Linked DNA regions of Homo sapiens: regions 1, 2 and 3 are each linked to region 4. The links are contacts of gene promoters, found by promoter capture Hi-C in blood cells and fetal thymus (Javierre and others, 2016). All regions are on one chromosome and are shown on one strand. The core of a region is centred on a gene start or on the middle of the fragment in contact, and the rest is flanking DNA. Distances in the headings are between cores, read along the strand shown. Region 1 has its middle 7.3 kb from the start of SHROOM1. Region 2 overlaps SEPTIN8 (septin 8). Region 3 overlaps GDF9 (growth differentiation factor 9). Region 4 holds the start of CARINH (colitis associated IRF1 antisense regulator of intestinal homeostasis).

What was found. Contacts are between HindIII fragments. The CHiCAGO score rates a contact against its expected background, and 5 or more counts as called.
Region 1: a contact is called between a fragment that was not itself captured here and the fragment with the promoter of CARINH in region 4, in 3 of 17 cell types (monocytes, fetal thymus and M0 macrophages). The highest score is 7.1, in monocytes.
Region 2: a fragment that was not itself captured here is called in contact with the fragment with the promoter of CARINH in region 4 in 1 of 17 cell types (fetal thymus); the score reaches 5.0 in fetal thymus.
Region 3: a fragment that was not itself captured here is called in contact with the fragment with the promoter of CARINH in region 4 in 6 of 17 cell types (naive B cells, fetal thymus, M1 macrophages and 3 more); the score reaches 7.5 in naive B cells.

The regions. Positions count from the first base shown.
Region 1 is chr5:132,835,457-132,840,450 of GRCh38, forward strand. No RefSeq gene overlaps it. Among named protein-coding and RNA genes, the nearest start is that of SHROOM1, 7.3 kb to the left of the region's middle. The HindIII fragment of the contact is 3,023 bases long and covers 1-2,877 here.
Region 2 is chr5:132,753,318-132,758,431 of GRCh38, forward strand. The region is part of intron 9 of SEPTIN8 (septin 8); the gene reads right to left. It overlaps CCNI2 (cyclin I family member 2), which reads left to right. Exons shown (of 6, transcript NM_001039780.4): 6 at 1-1,086. Among named protein-coding and RNA genes, the nearest start is that of CCNI2, 8.4 kb to the left of the region's middle. The HindIII fragment of the contact is 2,038 bases long and covers 1,769-3,806 here.
Region 3 is chr5:132,860,200-132,865,615 of GRCh38, forward strand. GDF9 (growth differentiation factor 9) reads right to left here. Exons shown (of 2, transcript NM_005260.7): 1 at 3,938-5,416; 2 at 986-2,357. The coding sequence starts at 4,334. The coding sequence ends at 1,390. Among named protein-coding and RNA genes, the nearest start is that of GDF9, 3.6 kb to the right of the region's middle. The HindIII fragment of the contact is 609 bases long and covers 2,931-3,539 here.
Region 4 is chr5:132,406,576-132,412,306 of GRCh38, forward strand. It overlaps CARINH (colitis associated IRF1 antisense regulator of intestinal homeostasis), which reads left to right and starts at 4,354. Exons shown (of 4, transcript NR_161242.1): 1 at 4,354-4,466. RefSeq lists an enhancer at 3,703-3,752 and silencers at 3,993-4,292, 4,363-4,652. The HindIII fragment of the contact is 5,230 bases long and covers 2,245-5,731 here.

The DNA of each region.
Region 1 (4,994 bases), core at 116-2,615, 430 kb after region 4:
CATAGCCTTTAACTGGCCTGGTAGCTTCCACTTCTTGCCTCTTGGTAGTGCTACTACTCTGAGACCACTAAGCTATGAGAAATACAAGCTATATGGAGAAGCCCAGGAGTATGAGATAGCATGTGGAGAGGGAAAAGAGAGGCCAAGGAGCACTTAGGCATTGCACAGGCAAGTAACCAGGCCATCTTGGAAGCGAATCCTGCAGTGTCAGCCACCCCCGCTGACACCATACTGATCAGAGAAGAATTCCGCAGCCTAGCTCTTCCTGAATTTCTGACCCTCAAAAACATGAGCACAATAATTATAAAAGTGCAAACTACTAAGTTTGGGGGTAGTTTGTTACATGGTAATAGACAACTGTAACAGGGTACATGAATTTTCTATTTTGATTGATATTGTCAAATCACACTTACAAAGAGGCTATACCAATTTACAGTCCCATAAAAAATGTATACAAGCACACTGAGATGGTTTAGATCTGTGTCCCCACCCAAATCTCATGTTCAGTTGTAATCCTCAATATTGGAGGTGGGTCCTAGTGGGAGGCAATTGGATCATGGGGGCAGTTTCATCATGAATGGTTTAGCACTATCCCTGTTGGTCATGATAGTGAGTGAGTTCTCATGAGATCTGGTCATTTAAAAGTATGTGGCACCCACCCCTCCCCCTCTCTTGCTTCTGCTCTGGCCATGTAAAGGGTACCTGCTTCCCCTTTGCCTTCCACCATGATTGTAAGTTTCCTGAGGCCTCCTCAGAAGTGAGAATCTGCATTTCCTGTACAGCCTGCAGAACCGTGAGCCAATTAAACCTCTTTTCTTTGTTAATTACCTAGTCTCAGGTATTTATTTACAGCAGTGTGGGATTGCATTAATACACTCACTAACACAGTGCATTATCAACCTTTTTTTAGACGGGGTCTTGCTGTGTTGCCCAGGCTGGATTTGAACTCCCAGGCTCAAGTAATCCTCCTGCCTCCGCCTCCCCAGTAGCTGGGACTACAGGTGCACACCACTGTGCTTGGCCTTTTTAGCTTTTAAAGTGCCATGGACCATCCTGGCAGCCTTAGTCCAGGTCAGAGTGTGTAAGTGTTCCCAGTGCCATTGAGACTTGGGGTGATCCCCTTTGCCCACCAGTCTCTGTGGGACCAACCCCTGCCCTCTGGGGCCTCAAGTTTCCCTTCTGCAGAATGAGTGCTGTGGCCAACAGCTCCTGGGCCTGTCCCCTGCAAGCAGCCTGCCCCTGCAGGCACATGCCACCATGCCTAGTGCATTATCAAACTTTTGGATCTCTGAAATCTGAAAGGTAAAAATAATATCTGTCTTAATTTATATTGCATATATTATAAATTAGACTACACACCATTTTGTGTATTTTAAAGCCATTTGTATGTGATCTGGGATCTGTCAATTTTCTTTGCTCATTTTTCTATTAGATTATTGGTCTCATTGATTTGTAAGACCTCTTTAGGGCTGGGCACAGTGGCTCATGCCTATAATCCTAGTAGCATTTTGGGAGGCTGAGGTGGGCAGATTGCTTGAGCCCAGGAGTTGGAGACCAGCCTGTCTCTACAAAAGATTCAAACATTAGTTGGCCATGGTAGCACATGCATGTAGTTCCAGCTACTCCAGGGAGCTGAGGCGGGAGGATCACCTGAGCCCAGGAGGTTGAGGCTGCAGTTAGACATGATTGTGCCACTGCATTCCATCCTGAGTGACAGAGTGAGACCCTGTCTCAAAAAAACAAAACAAAAAAAAACCTCTTTATATATTAAGGTGATTAACACTTTTTCCTATGTGTGGCAAATATTTTTCCAAGTTTGTGTCCTTTGATTTTGTGTGTGGTTTAACAGTGGATCTGTAGTTCATAGGTGAAGCAACAGATGTGGTTTTGTTTTTTTTTTTTTTGAGATGGAGTCTTGCTCTGTCGCCCAGGCTGGAGTGCAGTGGCGCAATCTTGGCTCACTGCAAGCTCCGCCTCCCGGGTCCACGCCATTCTCCTGGGACTACAGGCGCCTGCCACCACGCCCGGCTTATTTTTTGTATTTTTAGTAGAGATGGGGTTTCACCATGTTAGCCAGGACGGTCTCAAATCTCCTGACCTCGTGATCCGCCGGCCTCGGCCTCCCAAAGTGCTAGGATTACAGGTGTGAGCCCCCACACCCAGCCCAGATATCTTTCTTTTAGGCAGCAGCTACATAGCTGGGCTACATAGCTGTCTCAATAATTCAGAGATGGTAATGTACTGGTTAAAGTATATTAGAGGTCAGAAACCTTTCAACAAAATCATGTTGTTTATTTTTAGAAATTCAACAAAGCGTGAATTATTGCTTATACACAAATGTCTACCTAAACTGTAAATGTTCTTCTGGGGTAAGTTTGTTTGCTTTCCGATTATGCACTGAATTCACCACAGTTGTCTAAAGATAGGGCTTTATAGGAAAGTAGAAAGTGCACAAGAAGGAAGTGCAGGGAGAATGAAGATTGCCTTCGCCGGTGGGGACACCTGACAGGCAGGGCCTCTTGGTGAGGCTGGGTGAGGGCTGACTGTTCCAGAGATTGAACCAGATTCCCTTTCAGATCAGCACTTCCTGGAAAGGAGTGCTGGGCTGTCACATCCCCATTAAGTACACATATGTCACCTTTTCCCTGCAGACATTGGGTGACACCCAGCCTCTGTTTGCTTTGGTCAGAATGACTTAACTTTTCTACTCCAGCCTGGCCCCCAGCCCCAGGCCTGAAACCATTCCATCCTTGTGGTCTTCATTCAGATGTTACTCACACATCCTTGGACAAAAGAGGATTCATGAAAAAGATGGATACAGGCTTCTTCTTCTCTGCCAACTTCAGTGGGCCCCGGACAGATAGGTGTGGGCAAATAAGCTTTTCCACTTTGCTCTTCTGGTCCCCTAAGGTTCATTTTGGTTTTCAAGAAAAGAAACTATCTCAGGCTCTGAACTCGGCCCCAAAAGCATTGCTTAGAGAAGGCAACAGCCTCCTCAGGCCCAGGAATGGCCAGACTGTCTCTCTTGTGTCCAGATCATAAAATGGGATGAGATAGTCTCTAAAAAGCCCCTCTCCTAAAACTGTCATTCTGTTTGAGCTAAACCTCCCAGATTTCTGCTTGCTGAGGAGTCACCCAGAATATTCAATGGAAGAAAAATCCAATTTGTGAGCTCTGGACCCCAGGCTGCACACAGAAGCTGCGTGATGGACTTGGTACAGAATTAGGTCACAGCATGCTATGTGCATGTGGATGAATTTTGGCTGGTGGCTCAGGAGACTGAGAATGCATGCCCTAAACATTCACCTAGAAAACTTTCCTGATTTTAACTGTGGTGTATCTCGTCAGTTACTCACATAGAGGACACTTTGTTCTAAAACCCGGGGGTATGCCCAGCATTCATCACAGTCTGGGCACTGTGTTTGTGGTCACATTTACCCCTGGCAGGGTCCTTAGGTCCTAGTTAGCAGCTTTTTCTACTTCAAGGGAAGCAGCAAGAAAAGTAAAAGACAAAACAAAAAACAACATAGCAAGTTACTTTTGACTTTCCTAGCAAATCACCTAGCAAGATGAAAGGGGAATGTGTCTCTTAACTGGATGACACCAAATGAATTATGGGGCAAAGGGCAACTGACAGCAACTGCCTAGGAGTGGCAGAGACAGATTTATAGACAGGCTCATTGCCCACCCTTGATTTCTCAAAATGAAACAGGGAGAGAAAGGTGTTCTTCAATTTGGTGTATCCCAGAGATAGAAAATCAGTGAAGTAGGAAAGAGTGTGAGTTTCAAAGTATGGTGACTTCAGTTTGAATACCAGTAGCTCTATGAACCTGGAGATGTCCCCACCTTCCTGAGCCTCCATTTCCTCATGTGTAAAACAAGGATACTACATACCTGCCAGATAAAGATTAAAGGAGATTTGATCACATAGAGTAGTGCCAGGCTCACAGTGGGCCACCAATAAGTGATGTTAGTTATCATTATTCCTCACTTGAGTTTCTCCTGAGAAATACAATCTCAACTAAACCCCAGTCCCAATTTTCTCTCTAAGGACTGGTTTATCCACCTGGGGTCTCCCATAGGTGTTGCTCATGCTGCTGGTAGTTTCTCTCCTAAGCTTCACTCACCATTCCGGCAAACAGGGCTGTAAACACTTTGTTCATATTGTGTAAGTCTTGGGGAGACAGAACTCCCCCTCCTGCTTTGAAAGCCAGCCCAGTCACTGTACAGGCCTGAGACCTGGACTTAATCAATTTGATGCTTCTTCCAGAAGCTGGGACTCTTACGTGAGTAAAAGAGAGACACTGGGACAGGTGAGAAATGATCACGAGTCAGGAGGCGCAAGGACAGTAGCAATCCCGGCCTGTCCCCTGCTCTTGCTGCGCAGCCTCCTTTGTTCTTGTTTATTTTCACAGCCTGGTTCTCCAGCCTTCTAGTCAATTCTGTGAACCACTAGGTCTCCTCCCAATACATTCCTTTTTTGAATGAGTCAGGCAGAGCTGCTTGCTATTGTTTGAAACGAAGAAGTTTCTAATGTGGAGCCAAGACACCTTTTTCATACTGCCAGGCAAGAGGAAAATCCAGCCTGTTGAGATTTGGGTGTTGAGAGCTGCCCTTTCCCTGGGAAAAGCAACTACTAGCAAAGAGGGCAAGAGAGATTTCCATAGCTGCCCCAGGGTTCAGGGGAGGCAGTGTCTCTGCCCTTTGATGTTGCTGGAAATCCTCTAACAACGCTTACACAATCTCAAAACTAGCAACTCAGGAAACAGGATAAAGCAGTGCAAGAGAAATACAAGGCAGGCAAGTTCCTGGTTCAAAGTCATAAACATTTGCCATAAAAATGAGAACAAGATTTCCCTTGATAAACAAAACAAAGGCAAGAAAATGTGGAGATTGGTTGCTTTTTCCTCTTGCTGTACTAAGGAGGGTTGACCTTGATTCTACCTTTTCTTTGCTCGACAGCATAGGCAAAAAGACTAAGCTGAAGTCAGGCC
Region 2 (5,114 bases), core at 1,538-4,037, 350 kb after region 4:
ATGAAACCAAGAGGCAGGCCTGGCTCAGGGCTGAAGGGCTGGGGCTAGCTCTGACCAGTTCTTGCTGCTCTACCTGCCAGAGCTGGCCAGGTCCTTCCAACTTCCCAGGCTTATCCCAAACACATATGTGGTGCTTCCAGTCCCAACTACCCTGCCTGCCACTCCTCACATGGGACAGTCTCTGCAGATGCATTTACCCAACCATGGCTATGACTTATGTCTTCCCTTTACAAGGACTGGATTATAAAGTATGCTTTGTTTAATGTAACTTGAGCAAGCTTTAGGCATATCTTTCCTTTGTTACTCTTAAGCAAAGTGGTTTCAGTTATTAGTTTAACTAGAGGGATTTTGTGCTAATGAATGGGTATTATAGGCTAACACCTGTGATGGGAGGCACAGCTCTGAATGCTTTCTGTTGGGATGAGCAGGTTCTGAGGCCAAGCCTGCTCCAACCACAGTGCTGCCAGGAGGAGGAGCCGGCTGCCTCTCTCATGCTGTGCTACCACAGAGCCATTCTCTAAGCAGGGGAGTGCAGCTGACAAAGATGCCAGCTGGGGCTGTGTAAGTTGTGTTGGGGGCATGAATGACTGAGCCACACATTCAGAGGTGGTTTGTGAAGTCTTCCACTGTGAACTATGGTTTTTTTTTTTTTTTTTTTTTTTTGGTGTGTTTGTGTAAATGTGCTAAGCCATGGGGTGGGAGGGGAAAGATTTACTAGGTGCAAAGTGGTCAAGGGCCAGATATACTATAATTGTCTATATTATAGAGTTAGTATACATCTGTATTTTTTCTTGACACACTTTTGCTTGTTGGTGCTTTCGTTAAAATTACACTTTAATTGCTTCCGATCCTGTATGAGTCTTATTTTGAGCTACCATGCATTTAGCCTTGCGAGAGTCAGATACATTTGGAACACTATCTCCTAGGTCATATCAAGAACTCTCCTCTAGTCCAGAACCCATTTTACAGATGGAGATGCTGAGGCCATGCTGCTCACAGCTTCCAGTGGTGGCCGTTGAGTGCCCTCTGCCTCCTTCCTTCCAGTGTAAGTGGGACCACAGTGCATGAGGCAGAAGGACATCCTGAGGGCCCATACCAGTTTAGGCATCCCAGGCTTTAGGGGAACTGCTGGAAGACATCTGCTGCTTAACCAGGTGGCTATGGATGTGAGCTGGATTCTGAGAGCTGATCCAACTCAAACCTCTTGGAGAAAGCAGAGGGTAGACATGTGAGTCCTAGGACTGGGGTAAGAGACAACCTTCTGCTCTGGCTTTCTATAAATGATAGAACTCTTCTATAGGGAAGCTCACTTTTGTATTGCCGAAGTCCCACTCGTGGATTTTTAAAAATCTTATGTGCTTTTCAAGCTTGCCGTGGGGCCCCAGGTCCCATCCTACTTCCCTCTAATATTCTTTTCTGACATTAGGAACTCCTATCCCACCTCAACTCAGAGATTGGGAAACATTTCTCAGGGAGAAATATGGATACAATCTATTTTCCTTTTGACCCCAGCTATTGAAAGGCAGGGATTGGTGAAGGAATGAGGCTGAAGAAAATGGAGATGGAAAAAGCTCAGAGGCAGATGCTATGGCAGAAAGAAAGGTAGGTGGGCTCAGGGAGGAACAGGGCAGGGGGAGCATCATAGACCTGTCTTAAACTTGTCCAAACAGTACTTCCCTGAAATGAATGAGCCAAGTCATTTGATGATGTTTCCACCACCTAGGAGGCCCTCCTCCCCCTGGCTTCCTGGAGAGTCTCTGTCCTTCAAAGCTTGGTGAATACTTTACTTTGCCTCCCTGCTGCCTGCACAAGTAGAGCTGAGCTATGCCTGCATTAGGGATGTGTTCATACCACTCTCCCTGCAGGGGTCCCCATTTTCTCATTTTGGTCTTCCCAAACCTACCTAGTGCTCAATGGAGAAAGCTCCTTAAAAAACAAACCCACATACTTTTTATCACTTCTTTTCACCAGTCTGCTCTTCCTCAGCCACTTTTGCCTGTCCCCTAGGGCTTTCTACCTCTAAAAAACAGTCTCAGGTCCACCAGCCCACACCATCAGGCTGTGTACTTTAACACTAGCCACACTTTCACTACTCTTCCATCATTCCATTGAGATGCCAAGGAGCAGGTGTAGCTCAGGATTTAAGGGTACAGACTACCAGCGTTCAAATCTCAACTTCTCCAGTTACTTGCCATGTAACCTTGGGTAATTACTTAAACCTCTGTGCTTCAGCTATAAAATGGGGATGAATGGTCCCTAATCATAGGATTAGGATGAGGATTAGAGGAGTTAATGCATGTAATATGGTTCCGAGCAGTCCTGGCACTCGAATATTAGTAGTCCCGTGGCAAGCCTTTGTGTTAAGGAGGAACACTCCTCAAGGGCAGGTGCCCCTTTTCTCATGTCCTGCACCCAGTTAACCAATAAAGATTCATGGACCACAGGCTGCCCCTTTACCTTCCTGTAACTTTCCTGTGACTCTTCCCTCCATCCCCCACCTATGCAAGAGCCTTTCACAGATGTCTGTAGCAGGGTTTCCTATTAAAACAATTCCTACAGAAGTAGATCAACCTCCACAAAATTCAAAGAACAGACAAGCTGTATTTTACCACAGTTGTAGCAGATTAATGGGCTCAGGAAACGTTAAATCAGAAAAGCTACTGCCCAAAAAAGACACCACAAAAACTCAAAATAAATGCAAAATTTAATGAAAAAAATAAGTACAAAGTGAATGGAAAAGAACAAAAACAGTCAATGAATGCAGGAGTAAATGAATTAACACGTGAAGCAATTTTAGAAAAGCATGTTAACGTAACAGACTAGCAAGCCACACTTCCTCAGGCCTCGTATCCATGAGCCCCACTTAACAGGGAGCCCACATTTACACATACACAAACATATGCAGTCAGTAATGCACAATTACAAACCACCTAGATCAGGGTACCCACAACTAGAAAGAACATATTTCCACATCGGCCTGGGACAGGTCTGGTTTATGCCTTTTGATCTGGTGTAATTAATAGCATCCCCTTTCTCTCTCAATAGTCCCAATTTGGGCAACGAATTATATGGTGATTCTTCTACCTCAAACAAACATGGTTTATGATAAAGACATGATAGTAAATGCCAACATGATCCTGTAAGACAGCCCTAATAAAGCCAACAAATGACAATGAGAAAAAGAGGGGTAAATGAGACTCTGCAGACAGGGTCACATTCTATGGGGGCTAACTTACTAAACAGTGGCAAGTTTTAAGCTCACTTTATGCACCAAGGTTTAATTTGGTCTCAGCTAAAGAAGACAAAATTCCAAACACAAACAGCAGGGGAGAGGTGCAGTGAGGCTTGCTGGAGGGACCTGTGGAGGCAGCTCAGACCAGAAAACACAAGTCTGTCAAGTGTCCTGAAGATCCTGGGAAGGCTTAGGCCCGCAGGCAGCCAGCCACGAGTATGGCCTTTCAGTATGCCTGGGGTGCGACCCGCAGGCCACAATGGACGAATGGCCAAGTCTGCATACTCCAGAGTCCTAGGTTGGCCCATGAACCAGGAATTCTCATTTCTTATGTATCCAATGAACCTGCTGGGTCACCAGGCCTCATCTTCATAAATATGTTAGCTGAGAGAGGCTATCTTAAAGGTCATGCTCTGACCCAACTGCATACACTTTCAGACATAAAATTACCCTAGAGATGAGCCATTGGCAGCCCACATTTGCCCTGGATATGCCAGTTTACCTTTTTAGATACCCTCACTGAAGCATCAGTTTTCAATTGCAACCAGATACGGACTTATTGTGACGCTAAGGAAGCTTAATCTTCAGGGCCCCTTCCAAGACCCTGTACCTAATTTTATATTAACATTGTTTTTCTTAAAGAAGTCTTTCTAAATAATTCAAGCTTTCAGCCCCATAAAATTTAGATCCACCCCTGGTCATAGCATAAAAAGTTGAATTGTCACTAGAACCTGCTCTGCTGCTGGAGCATGGAGCCCCTCACAGGTAAAGGCTGCCTCTTCCTGGCCGTGCCTCGGTGGACACACACAGCTCACCCCTCCACTTCTCCCTGAGCAGAACATCATCTCAGGAAGGCAGGAGGAAGCCAGGACTTGGTCCTGGAAATCAATAATGCAAGCCAGACAGAAAGGGGGAAATGGTCATGAGAAGGAAGACAGGGGCATGAAAAGCAAACTACCAATTCCACAATAAATTAGCACGTCTTCCTGAGGCTTCCAGCCAGGGAGTAGGCTAGACTGTGAGCTCCTTGAGGGGAGCGTTGTGCATTCCTCTGGGTAGCTCCAGTGCCCAGCACGGTGCTTCAACATTAAAACTACCCTTCCTTTCATTTAGTCATTTTACATCTCCCATTTTACCAGGCCGTATTCTCAACACTGACATTCTTGGTGGCTTGTAAACCAACAGGAGCATAGAAGAGTCAAAGCTGCTAGTACTTCCTTAAAATGTTCCCCTTTAGAGTGCAGCTGAAGGGGAAAGCTCCTTTGCCGCTCATTTTTCCCTAATTGTCTATATACATCAGACACCTTCATCTCTTCACCCTGTGACCCAGCCAGGAAAGAAGCAATGACTTTGAGGTAACAACCTTTTTCCCACTGAGTACTCTTTACATTTGGAATATGCAGGATTTGCTTGGGAGTCTTAATTGGAGTCAAACACTTAACACACACACATGGAGTTGGTCCCTGTCTACAGGTAGCACCTCTGGGGCACAGACAACAGCTTTGGGCTGCTGTTCCATTTACATTCACAGTAAAAACGCTGGACATGGTCTTGTTCATGTTCCAATTCCATCCATAAAGAAATGCCAAACACTGTCATTACAGGAAGTTTATTACCCACCTCTCCCTGTATATGATAGGCATACTTTATACATAAGAAAGGTTTAGCTGTATTTTTAGTTTTTAAAAATCAGGGAATCTGTGTTACTTATGAAAATAATGGGAGAGGATATTATTTGTCTTGACGCTGGTGCCAAAATAAATATTTAGAAGTGTTTTAAAGTTATTAAAATTAAGCTGTAGGTTAGAAAAATTAAAATGAGGGGAACTGGGTGAATTTTGCAGCATGTATACCAGACCACGCAGCTGCACCTAGGGCACCA
Region 3 (5,416 bases), core at 1,985-4,484, 450 kb after region 4:
CATTCATATGAAAGTCCTGAATCAGAAACCTATGAATAAGTTCGTAGTTGCTTAGGGCTGGGAGTGGGGCAAGACAGGAAATGGGAGTAATAGCTAAAGCATATAGGGTTTCTTTTTGAGGTGATGAACATGTTCTAAAATTGATGATGGTGATGGTGTTCTATGTTTATAAATATACTATAAACCACTGAATTGTACACTTTAAATGGGTAAATTATATGGTATGTGCATATTTAATGAAGCTAAAAATAGCACCAAGAAAAGATCATTTACAAGAATAAAAAGTACTTATTACATCTAGGAGTTACTTTTGGTTTATACATCAAGGTTTTAGAAACTCAAACACAAAATCACGATATCAACCCTACCTCTGTGCCTCCAGGGCTCTCTCAAAATAGATATATTGAAAACCTACATAAAAACCCTAGCATCCACATAAGACCCAGTCAATAACATAACCAGTCACTACTGCAAGCTTAGTAGGAACAGTTATAAATCTATCTGGAAAAAAACCTGTGGGGGTGGAGTGGAGGGAGCTAAGCAAATCAGCAAAAACCAAACCAAAACAAAAAACCTTCCCTGGCTGCCTTTCATAAGGTCAGAGGTTTTAAATATATAAAGAAAAAAATACACTTACAAAGTCTTGTACGTAGGTTTTCTTGGAAAAACATGCAAGGCAATTTCCTTTACATGAATGGGACAAATGTTATATTGTTCTGTGTGACTCGATTGATTTATATATGCTAGTTAACAAGGAGAATTAGTATACTGTTCACCAATCACACTAAAGCAACGGAAATGGGTTACACTGCCTGCTCTCTAGTCCTAGTGAGTCTTAACTTCATGAGAATTTCGGTGACATTAGCCTCCCTTTCACTCTGAAAAAGGATCAAAAGTCGAGCTATGGCCAGCTTTTAGACACTTCCTCTCCCCCACTAAATGATCAGCTTAAAAGCAATATTTAATAAAACACACACAAAATTTATGCCATTGACAGAAATTTATTCTTCTATTAAGACTACAGCAATCTGAATTGCCTATTTATAGCTGCAAGTCCATCCAGGATTGATGCTAATTAAGGTTTTTTCCCTATCAAGAATAAGACTCCTATGAAAAGAAAAAAAATCACTCAAGGAAAAAAATGTAAAGTTCTCCACAATAATTATATTTCATTTAAATTTGGAAATAAAAAAAGGCTCTGTAGCAACAATTGATGTTATCCCTTTATCCTGATAGATGCCATAGAAGGTACTAACCTACACAGGCTCCTCTTTATATAACATATGCTACATTTAGAGACTTAATATATGAAGCTTTCTCTTGAAGGCACACATAGGCACACAGTAGTTACTTTGCCAAATAGGCTCAAGGTTTTAAGAGGACCATTTGTTAACGACAGGTGCACTTTGTAGCTATCATATCTTCGTACTCTTTATAGGCAATTGAGCCATCGGGCTCAATGGTCAAAACACTCAAGGGGCTGTATTTGGCAGGTACACATGACGGTCTTGGCACTGAGGAGTCCAGCTTCTCATAGATGATGTTCTGTACCATGGTGTGAACTGGAGAGCCATACCGATGTCCAACTGCCCTTGGACAGTCCCCTTTACAGTATCGAGGGTTGTACCTGTGCGGAGCCACAATCCAGTTGTCCCACTTCAGCTGACTAAAGCTAAGTCTAAAGTCATGGAGCTCACACTCATTTTGGGGAAGAAGAAATTGTCTGAAGTATTCACTCAGATTGAAGGAAGCTGGGCCCAAGGGCTTCTTCAATTCAGAACTGACAGTTTCCTGACCTCTGCGGTGACGGTGATGGGAAGATCTCCCATCCTCAGCAGCCTCTTCTCCCACAGGATAGGCAGACAGACTTCTCTCCTGGTCAGGACCCTGGGAAGGCCTCCTTTTATAGTGAAGGGAATACCAGCTGTGATAAGCCTGAGCACTTGTGTCATTCAAATATAAGATCAGTGAGGGGGACACCAGAGTCATGTTAAACAAACCATTCTGTGCTGAAGGATGCTCCAGCTGGTCTTTCATGCAAGTAAAATTTATAGACATGTGAATACTTCTCTTGTTGGAGGCCACTAAAGGTTGAAGGAGGCTGGTCACATCAATCTGAATCCATTTGTGTTTCTTTCCAAATTCAAACTGTGAGTTAAAGGTAAATGAGTATGGAGCTCTGCCGAGAGTCCTGCTAGAAGACTTTGGCTCCTTTATCATTAGATTGCACACACATTTGACAGCAGAGGAAAAAGAAACTGAGTTGTTGATATTGTACAGCAAGACTGACTTGAGTAAGTGTTCAACGGTAGTAATGCGATCCAGGTTAAATAGCAGTTCCACTGATGGAAGGATTCCTAAGAAGAAAAAAAATCTACCAGTAGTGCTTGAAAATCAGTCAACACAACAGGCAGTCAAGTCAAAGAATTAGTACTTCATAATATGCTTTCTCCCTTCTCTTTTCCCCACTTTCTCAAGCCTCAAAAAAAAAAATGGGGGTTAATATAGAAAAGGAAGGCAATTGGTATCATTACTAATTCCCAGCAACCTTACTGGACATTTTATCTCCAGAAAGTCAGATTTGGTGGTGAATCAAAGTAACAGGGAATCACTACATTCTGAAGTTTCATTTTTATTTTTTATTTTTTTGAGACAGGGTCTCACTGTTACCCAGGCTGGAGTGCAGTGGCACCATCATGGCTCACTGCAGCCTCAACCTCCCAGGTGCAACTGATCCTCCCACCTTAGCCTCCCAAGTAGCTGGGACTACAGGCATGAGCTACCATGCCCAGCTGATTTTTTGTTTTTGTAGAGACAAGGTCTCGCCATGTTGCCCAGACTGGTCTTGAACTTCTGGGCTCAGGCGATCCTCTCACCTCAACCTCCCAAAGTGCTGGGATCACAGGCATGAGCCACTGTGCTCAGCCTGAAGCTTCATTCTGAGTAATTTGCTCCAAACACAGAAGCAGCTGAGCTGATAAGGAAAGTAGTATTTTTCTCTTGGATAATCTCTAGAGGGAAAACCATAATAGAAACACTTATCAGACTTACTAAGATGACATTCTAAGCCCTAGTGAAGAAAGTCAATTTAAAACAATGTAATTGGTCCTAGTTAATTTAGAACACTTGAGATTAAAAACAGATGCTCTAAAACCACTATATTAAAATAGGATATTAAGGAAGCAGATACAACTGCCCTGTTGGGTTAGAATGGTTTTAAATCAAGAGCTGGTAGATATATACTTTTTTTTTTTTTTTTGAGACAGAGTCTCGCTCTGTTGCCGGGCTGGAGAGCAGTGGTGCGATCTTGGCTCACTGCAACCTCTGCCTCCTGGGTTCAAGCGATTCTCCTGCCTCAGCCTCCCGAGTAGCTGGGACTACAGGTATGCACCACCACACCCAGCTAATTTTTGTATTTTTAGTAGAGACGGGGTTTCACCATGTTATAATTTTTTAAAGCACCACACCCAACTGCTGAGTCAAACTGTGGACTGATACTTTGTTCTTGTAAGGGCCAACTGTTCAAAACGGGAACTTTAAGCTTTTCTCTCACAGAAAGTAACAAACAAGAGAAAAATATCCTATTTAACACATCACACCAATAGCTGTAAGAGATGTTTAAGGTCCATTTCTGGGCCAAAAGCTTGGTGGAACAGAAAGAGGTGCTAACATTCTCTAGCAGCACTTCCGCTCAGCCTTGAAAGCCATTAAGTCTCTGGTGTTGCTTTAAAATTCCATCATATTAGCCCACCTTAACCAATGAGAGCGTTAGGAATAAACAATAAGCTCAAGTCCCAGATTTGTTTCAACTGGATATTGAGTTTTATGCAAAATAAAATACAATTCAAGGAACTAGGCTCAGCTCCTTTCTGTAATTGAAATGCAGAAGTGTCTATCATCTTCCCTCCACCCAGTTAACCAATCTGCTTTCACATACCTGTTACCTGGTCTCCAGGAGCCTGCTTGTGCCGGGTACAGGGGGTGAAGAGCCGAACAGTGTTGTAGAGGTGACTTCTATTGGATTTAGGAATCCCTTCCTTGGTAGCATATGTCTTATAGAGCTTCTTCATGTAGTGCAAAGCTCTGGAGTCTGGCTGCAGCCTAGGTGACCCACCTCGCCCAACAGATAGAACTTTGAAAAGCGCGGGAAGGAGGCCAGCTCTGTCTCTCTCATCTATATGCTGCAGCAAGGACCAAGGCATAGCCCCAGATTCCAACTCAGCACTAGCAGCAATCTGAGCTTCTCCCCCAGAAGCCTGAGAACCAAGGCTAATAGGAAAACACAGCCAGGCAAAGCAGCAAAACCAAAGGAGGAATTTGTTGGGACGTGCCATGGCTTGGGAGAACTAGTGAGGAACATATTTCTCCATGCCAGTCCTCTTCCTAAAGGCCAGGAAGAGCCTAGCTTGGTCTCTTAAATAAATTTCAGGTGTGTGGGTGGACTACGGTCACTTCTGTAATCAGGCCTCAAGTATGCCTAGCTGAAGATTTTATCAGCTCTATATCAAGCAGCTGATAACACCTTATTTAGCCAATTTGTTAATTAGATACAGATTTACTTGGTTATTTAGCTTTCCTCTCTTTTCCCCTGGCATTTACGTAAAACCCGTTACTGTTACACTACCGGACTAACTATGTAGCTGAAAGTCTAAGATAAATTGAGGAATGATCTTAAATAAAATCTCTCATTTTTTGAGAAATTTGGATTAAGATGTTCGCTAGGTGCTTGCTGAAACTTCTAAGGCATGTGGAAAAGCTAACCAATTATTCATGACGATACTCAGATCTGCTGGTATGCAACTTATGGTATTAGGTTTACTCTTCCTCTCAATTTATCCTCACGGCCTTTTCCACTTCCAGGTGTTTACAATTGTAATTATTCGCTGCATGTTAATTTGCGAATTTACAAATTTGGGTGAGAAAGTCACAATTGGCATAGAAGTTCCAGAAAGCAGAAAACCATTAGGTCTCTCAGTCCTCCCAGGTGGCTGGGTACAGAATACGTACTTGGAGTACTGGAATTGTATTTGCGATGTTCTTAAAAGAGGACACCGCCTTTAACCTTGACTTATTTTTAAATGTAACATACTGATGTCCTTACTTTGGTCTGCACACTCATCTATACATATTTTGGTTGAAAGGTTTTGGGATGTTTGCAGATGCTATAAAATAAATGAACGTTTTATTATTATTCATCCAAATGGTGGTAGAATTTGCCACAATATTTCTGTCCTTACCTGTATTTCTGTTCTTGCCTTGGAGCTGAGACCAGGCTAGACATTATGGTTTAAAAAAATGAGGCAAAGGAGCACCATGAAAAGCTGAAATGAGGGGATATTCAGCGCCACCCCGAAGGAGACTATGCTGGAAGAGTCAGCCTACACTCATAGTGCAAGATACGAAGCCAGTTTGTGCA
Region 4 (5,731 bases), core at 3,104-5,603:
CCTTTGACACCCAGCTCTCCAAGGGCACCTTGCTCAGGGAGGCTAAGCTCAGAGCAAAAGTGCCTTTTGGAGTGCTAGCTTCTTTCTACCAACAATGACAGATTTCCATCTGTGCTGCCAAACATGTAAGTTCTTTCCTTAAGGAACACTTATAAAAGATGACTTCCAGGCCGGGTGCAGTGACTCACACCTGTAATCCCAGCACTTTGGGAGGCTGAGGTGGGTGGATCACCTGAGGTCTGGAGTTCGCCACCAGCTTGGCCAACATAAGGAAACCCCGTCTCTACTAAAAATACAAAAATTAGCCAGGTGTGGTGGCGGGTGCCTGTAATCCCAGCTACTTGGGAGGCTGAGGTAGAAGAATCACTTGAACCTGGGAGGCAGAGATTGTAGTGAGCCAAGACCACACCATCACATTCCAGCCTGGGGAACAAGAGCAAAACTCCATCTCAAAAAAAAAAAAAAAGACTTCCTTTTCCCAGAAAACTAAGGGCCCCCCTACATCAAAATTATTTCCCTTTGGCTGTTCAGGAACAATTGCTCATCTCCTTTCGATTTTTTGACTTTTAACTCCTCCTCAAGGAAGTTAAGGGATGTTTTTTGCTATTGGTAGGTTGTGCTTTTCTAGAGGGAAATAGTTCTAGTATTGAGATCTAAACTGAGAATTGCTGATTATCCATGGAACAAGCATTTTAAAAACAAGACCAGACCCTAGCTCCCACAGAGGACATGGTTGATAGCTTAGTACCAAAGCACAAGCATTATCTTCTGAGTGGGAAAGCAGATATGGAGCTTCCTTGCCCACCTGACACCTAAGCCAACATGTGCAGAATTGGAGCCCTCCAAAACTTGGGCCTCTTCCAAGGTTCTCCAAGTCAATGAAGGGCATCATTGTGTCAGCTTGGGTCCTCCTAGAGCAGACACCAAGATGGAATTAAACCTGGAAGAGTTTATTGGGGAAAATGCCTATGAAGAATAAAGAGGAGCAGAAGCAAGAGTAAGCAGAGAGAGCCCCACACCGTAATGCAGGTCTGACCCCTGTGAAAGAGAAGAGGGAAGGATGGAGGAGTAGATAGGAAGAGCCTCAGACTGCAGAGCCATTCTGAGAAAGTGCTGGCCAGACTGACAGGAAGCCCCAGAGTACAGGTGGCCCATTAGAGGAGTTTTGCCTCTGGCATTCCCTCTTATAGCGTCAAATGCATCTTGTAGTATTTAGGATGGCATTCTATATTTGACCAATTATTTGATTGCTTTATTACCTCACTCAAGTGTGTTTCCCGAGGGCAGAGACCACATTTATTTTTGCTCATCACTGAATCCCCAGCATTAGCAGGGTGGCTGCATTTTGTAGTTGCCACAGAATATTTGTTGAATGAAATATCTAAAAGGGTTATTTTTTTCATTTTTATCTGAATCACACATCAGGTATTTTTTTTTCCTAACCAGTGACTCCTAAGTTAGATGCTGCTTGCACCATGCTTTCATTCCATTTATATCATTCTTCAGCTGGGTTGCGTGATCATCAGCTGTGCCCCGCCCCCCAACCCTCCATTGCCCGATTCTGTAGTAAAGTCTTTTGGGACTGGCCTTGGACTTGGACTTTTGCTTCTTTTGTGTCTTTACTGACTATCAGTGCAGGCCTGGATAAAGTTCTTGTTGCAGAACTTGCTACTGCACAAACTTTTGTTCCAGGGTTAGATCAGGAAGGATAGTAAGGAAAACAGAGCTGTCTCCAAAAGGTGGGATAGAAAGCTGTCCTTTAGAAGTTAAATTATAAATCAAGCCAATCAGAGCAAAGATACAAAATGTCTCCATAAAGAAAAATAAGGGCTGAGAGACCTTACTGAGTAATGTTACTCAGTAACGCCTTGCTCTATCTAAAAATGTCCATCTGAGGAGAGGCGGCCTGGGTACCATAATACAGAGAGCCTCATCGACACAAACAGATGGTGTCCACCAGGCCCCATCTAGGGAGAAGGGCTGGCCAGGCCAGCAGGGATGAGTGAACAGTACTTCCTATAGGTTTTGACCTGTGTTGTGGAAAGAGACATCCCACATTGCCCGAGCCTGATATCATCAAACATTTAAGTCAGACAATTCACTCTTCCGATTCTGATTTTAGGCTCACTAAGCCACCTTCTGACTATGGGGCTCCAAACTGCATGGCTACAAGAAGAGAATGTGTTCATCAGGTGGCCTCGAGTCCAGTGTTCCCGACAGTCTTGCTTCTAACAGGAATGGATAAGCTTCAGGTTTTGGGGTCAGATGGCCTTGATTCAAACCCTGCCACTAACATACATAGTAACTATGTGACCTTGGGATTTCCTTCATCTTTTTTTCTCCCAAATGAAAAATAAATAGATTATAATATACCACATGATAGTAGGGAGAAATAATGAGGTAATAATGCATGTAATGCATTTAGCATAGCACTTCTCTAGCAAATAGTGAATGAAATCAGTCAGTTGTCATTCTGACTTTATGCAACAGTGCTAATCGACTCTGGTACACTGGAAGTCAGATGAGATTTTTGGCCCCACAAAGTCAAGGACCAAACCTGGACCTTGGGAAGTTGCCAAGATGAAAAACATCAGGCCGGCCTTGACCTCCTGATGCTCTCTGTTCACATGTGTGATGTCTATAAAAGGTAACCAGGATTTGGCTTATCTGCTTACATCTCTTCCTGTCTTTTCCTGATCTTCATCTTCCCAAACATAGTTTTTATGCAGAAGCAGATTTAACTCTACTTTGCTATCTTGGAGTCAAGAATTGTCCTATAAGGAGGAAGAGGCTCCAAGGCTTGCCTTTTTTGTTTTTTCTTTTTCCTTCATACTACAGACTAAAAGTAGCATCTTCTGGACAGAGAAACAGGCTGTTGTTTTTCTAAGGTCATCATTTGGCCTGCCCCACTTTCCCACCTGCTCTTGAGGGAACTATTGCAAGGACACATACAAGCCCCTACATCAGTCACAGACCAGGGCCTCCATCTTGCAGGGAATGTGCCCAAATTACAAACAGGTAAACCAAAGTGACTCTGGGCAGATTTAATAGCTCATTTTGGTTTCTTGTTCCAGTTATAACAGACTGCTCTGTGTTTGCTCTATGGCAAAAACTTTTATGTTTGCTTTGCAACAAACGTACAGACAGGGCAAACTGTGTTTGGAGTATGGTGTCTTACCAATGTTTTCTAAAAGCAAGTGAATAGAAATGCTTGCAAAAGTATTTTCAGACCTCAGTGGCCAGCGCTGAACACCGCTGTAGGAATGTCCATCAAACGTTGTGGCCATGCTCCACTCTAACAAAAACCTGGTTCCGTGGCATAATTGTGGGGGCTAATTGTCAGGCTAAGTTTCAGACACCTTCCAAAAAAAATTGCAGGGCTTCCTCAGTCTTTAAACTCCAGATAATATTGTCCAAACTTTGACAACTAACCTGTTATCATGGAGATAGCTCCAAGTTGATGGACTGGCCATTAGAGAATGTCTATCAAGCATCCAGGTAAATGACTTGGTTGCTGCCCTCAAGGAACCCACTTAGAGGCTGTCAGAAAATTTTAAGTATTTTCTTCCTTCTATTGTTCATTCCTAAAATTCTGGCAGTAGGTATGATTATTATTATTCCCATCCCACAGGGGAAGTAATTAAGTCTAACTACTTGAATATTTTGCCCCAAATCACTGACAGTAAGAGACGGCCAGACACTGAAACCTGGAATCTCTAAATGTTTAGATATTGATGGGCACCGCTTAGACCAGGGAGTCCAAACCATAGGCTTGCTGTTCCAGTTTCTCTTATCGGATGAAGGGACCCCCATTTCACCGACGTCATTGACTTTTGGGTTCTCCGCTGACCCCAGATGAGATGCCTGGTACCTCATGGTCAAGTCCCCTCCAACGGGGACTCCTCAGAGGCTTGGTCCCAGTTGCTCAGGCTGCCATCTGCCTCCTCAGGCCAGAGCCCGAGGCGCCGCCAGCGGTCAGGTCCCGGGCCGGCTGCCAGCCACAGGCCCAAGTAAACGCTGAATGAAGGGCAGATGGAGGAACCTGTCCCGGTCGGCCGAAGCGCCGCGGGCGCCTTTCCACTTACGGCGGGCCTGCCCAGCCTCCCGCCCAGCCCGGGCCCGGGTCCCGCCGAGGCAGGTGTGCGTGGCGGACTAGCTCTCGGGCACTCGGCTGGCCCAGCTCCACCCCGAACGCCACCGGGCCAGGCCACGCGCAGACCCGAGCCCGGGGCCCCCGCCTCTGGCTGCCGGCCCGCGCCCGCCGCGCGCCCCGCGTTCACTGCGCGCTCGGCCCCGGTCCCGCCTCCCGGAGGGTTTCGCTTTCGCTTTCCTGCCGATGTCGTTGAGGAAAATGAAAGCGGTCGTGGCCAGGACTGGCGCAGCTGCCGTTTCAGGCGAGGGGCGCAGAATGCAGCGGCCGCCAGCCTGGAGCGCGGGCCCTGGGGCCGCAACCCGCGCCGGGCGAGGTAAGCACAGCCCCTTCGCGGCCGCCTCGCGGGCTCCTCCTTGCGGACCCGGCGGGCCCGACGCCAGGCGTTTGACCCGGGCAGGGTCAGGGGTTCTGCCGTGGGGGCGGGGAGGGCCTGAGAAGCGGCACCCTTGGGTTTCGTGGCTTTGAGCCTCCAGGCCAGGCTGGAAGACCTGGGAGGCCTCAGACAAGCGTGCCAAGGGGCTAGCAGCCCGGGGTCGAGCTGGAACCGTGGCAAGTCGGGCCACCTGAGCACGCCTTTCCCTTTTGTAGAGCACCGACCTCCCTGGGTGTTGGTAAAAATCAAAAGTGGGAGGGTGTACGTAAAATGCTGAACAGAATGCCTAACCTGAGCTCATAATCTACTCCCTCTGACCTGTCAGACTCATTTTTCCCACTGGGCCCCACCCCATACCTCATGTAGTTTGCTTAAGTTTCCTAGATCTGGTGCACCTGGGGGCACTTGGAGTGCCTTCCAAGTGTTCCTTGACCGAGCAAGCTGGCAGCTCATCTCCCTTGATCACGGGCATGGAGAGCAACTAGGCCAGGATGTGGCCCCCTTGCCCTGGCCCTGTCCATGTGAAGTCAGGGCCTTACTCTGCTGGGGCCCCCATCCCGGGGCTAGCATAGATGTCAGGGATAGGTGCACTCACAGACCGAGTCCTTCCCAGACCAGGAAATTTCCAGTCCACTGCATCTGCCAGCAGAAGCATGAAAGATGCGTGCCACCTTGTCTTTGCCCTTCGTCAAGTATAGCCAACTCATTCTTGGTATGCAGGAAGGGGGTTCCACCCCAGGGCTGTGGAAACAGCCCCTGCCCTTAGGGCGTTCCCATCCCCTGAAGAGAGAAAATATGTATTCAAGTTACCCATCAGGCAGGTTGTGTAGAACAAGGACAGGTGAGTGAAAGAGCTAAGAGCTGAGAGTAAAGTGACTAAATCATCAGAAACTTTACATTTAAGTTATGACAGGTTTTGCAGGCCAATACCAAGAATCCCCTTTAACTCAATTTTTGTCTCAATAATAATGAATTCAGCCTAATCACACAGATCTGATCATACGGCCCATTACTGAAACAAAACTTGAATGATCTTTACTTTGAGAAAACCATCTGAATTTGACAAAAGATGGTCTAAGTTCCTAAGTTTCAAAACATGGAGTCCGCCGCTGCCCTACCTCAGCAGGATGGTGTTGAGTACTGATTGCTTTTAGAAAATGCTGCTCTTGCCGGGCACGGTGGCTCACGCCTGTAATCCCAGCACT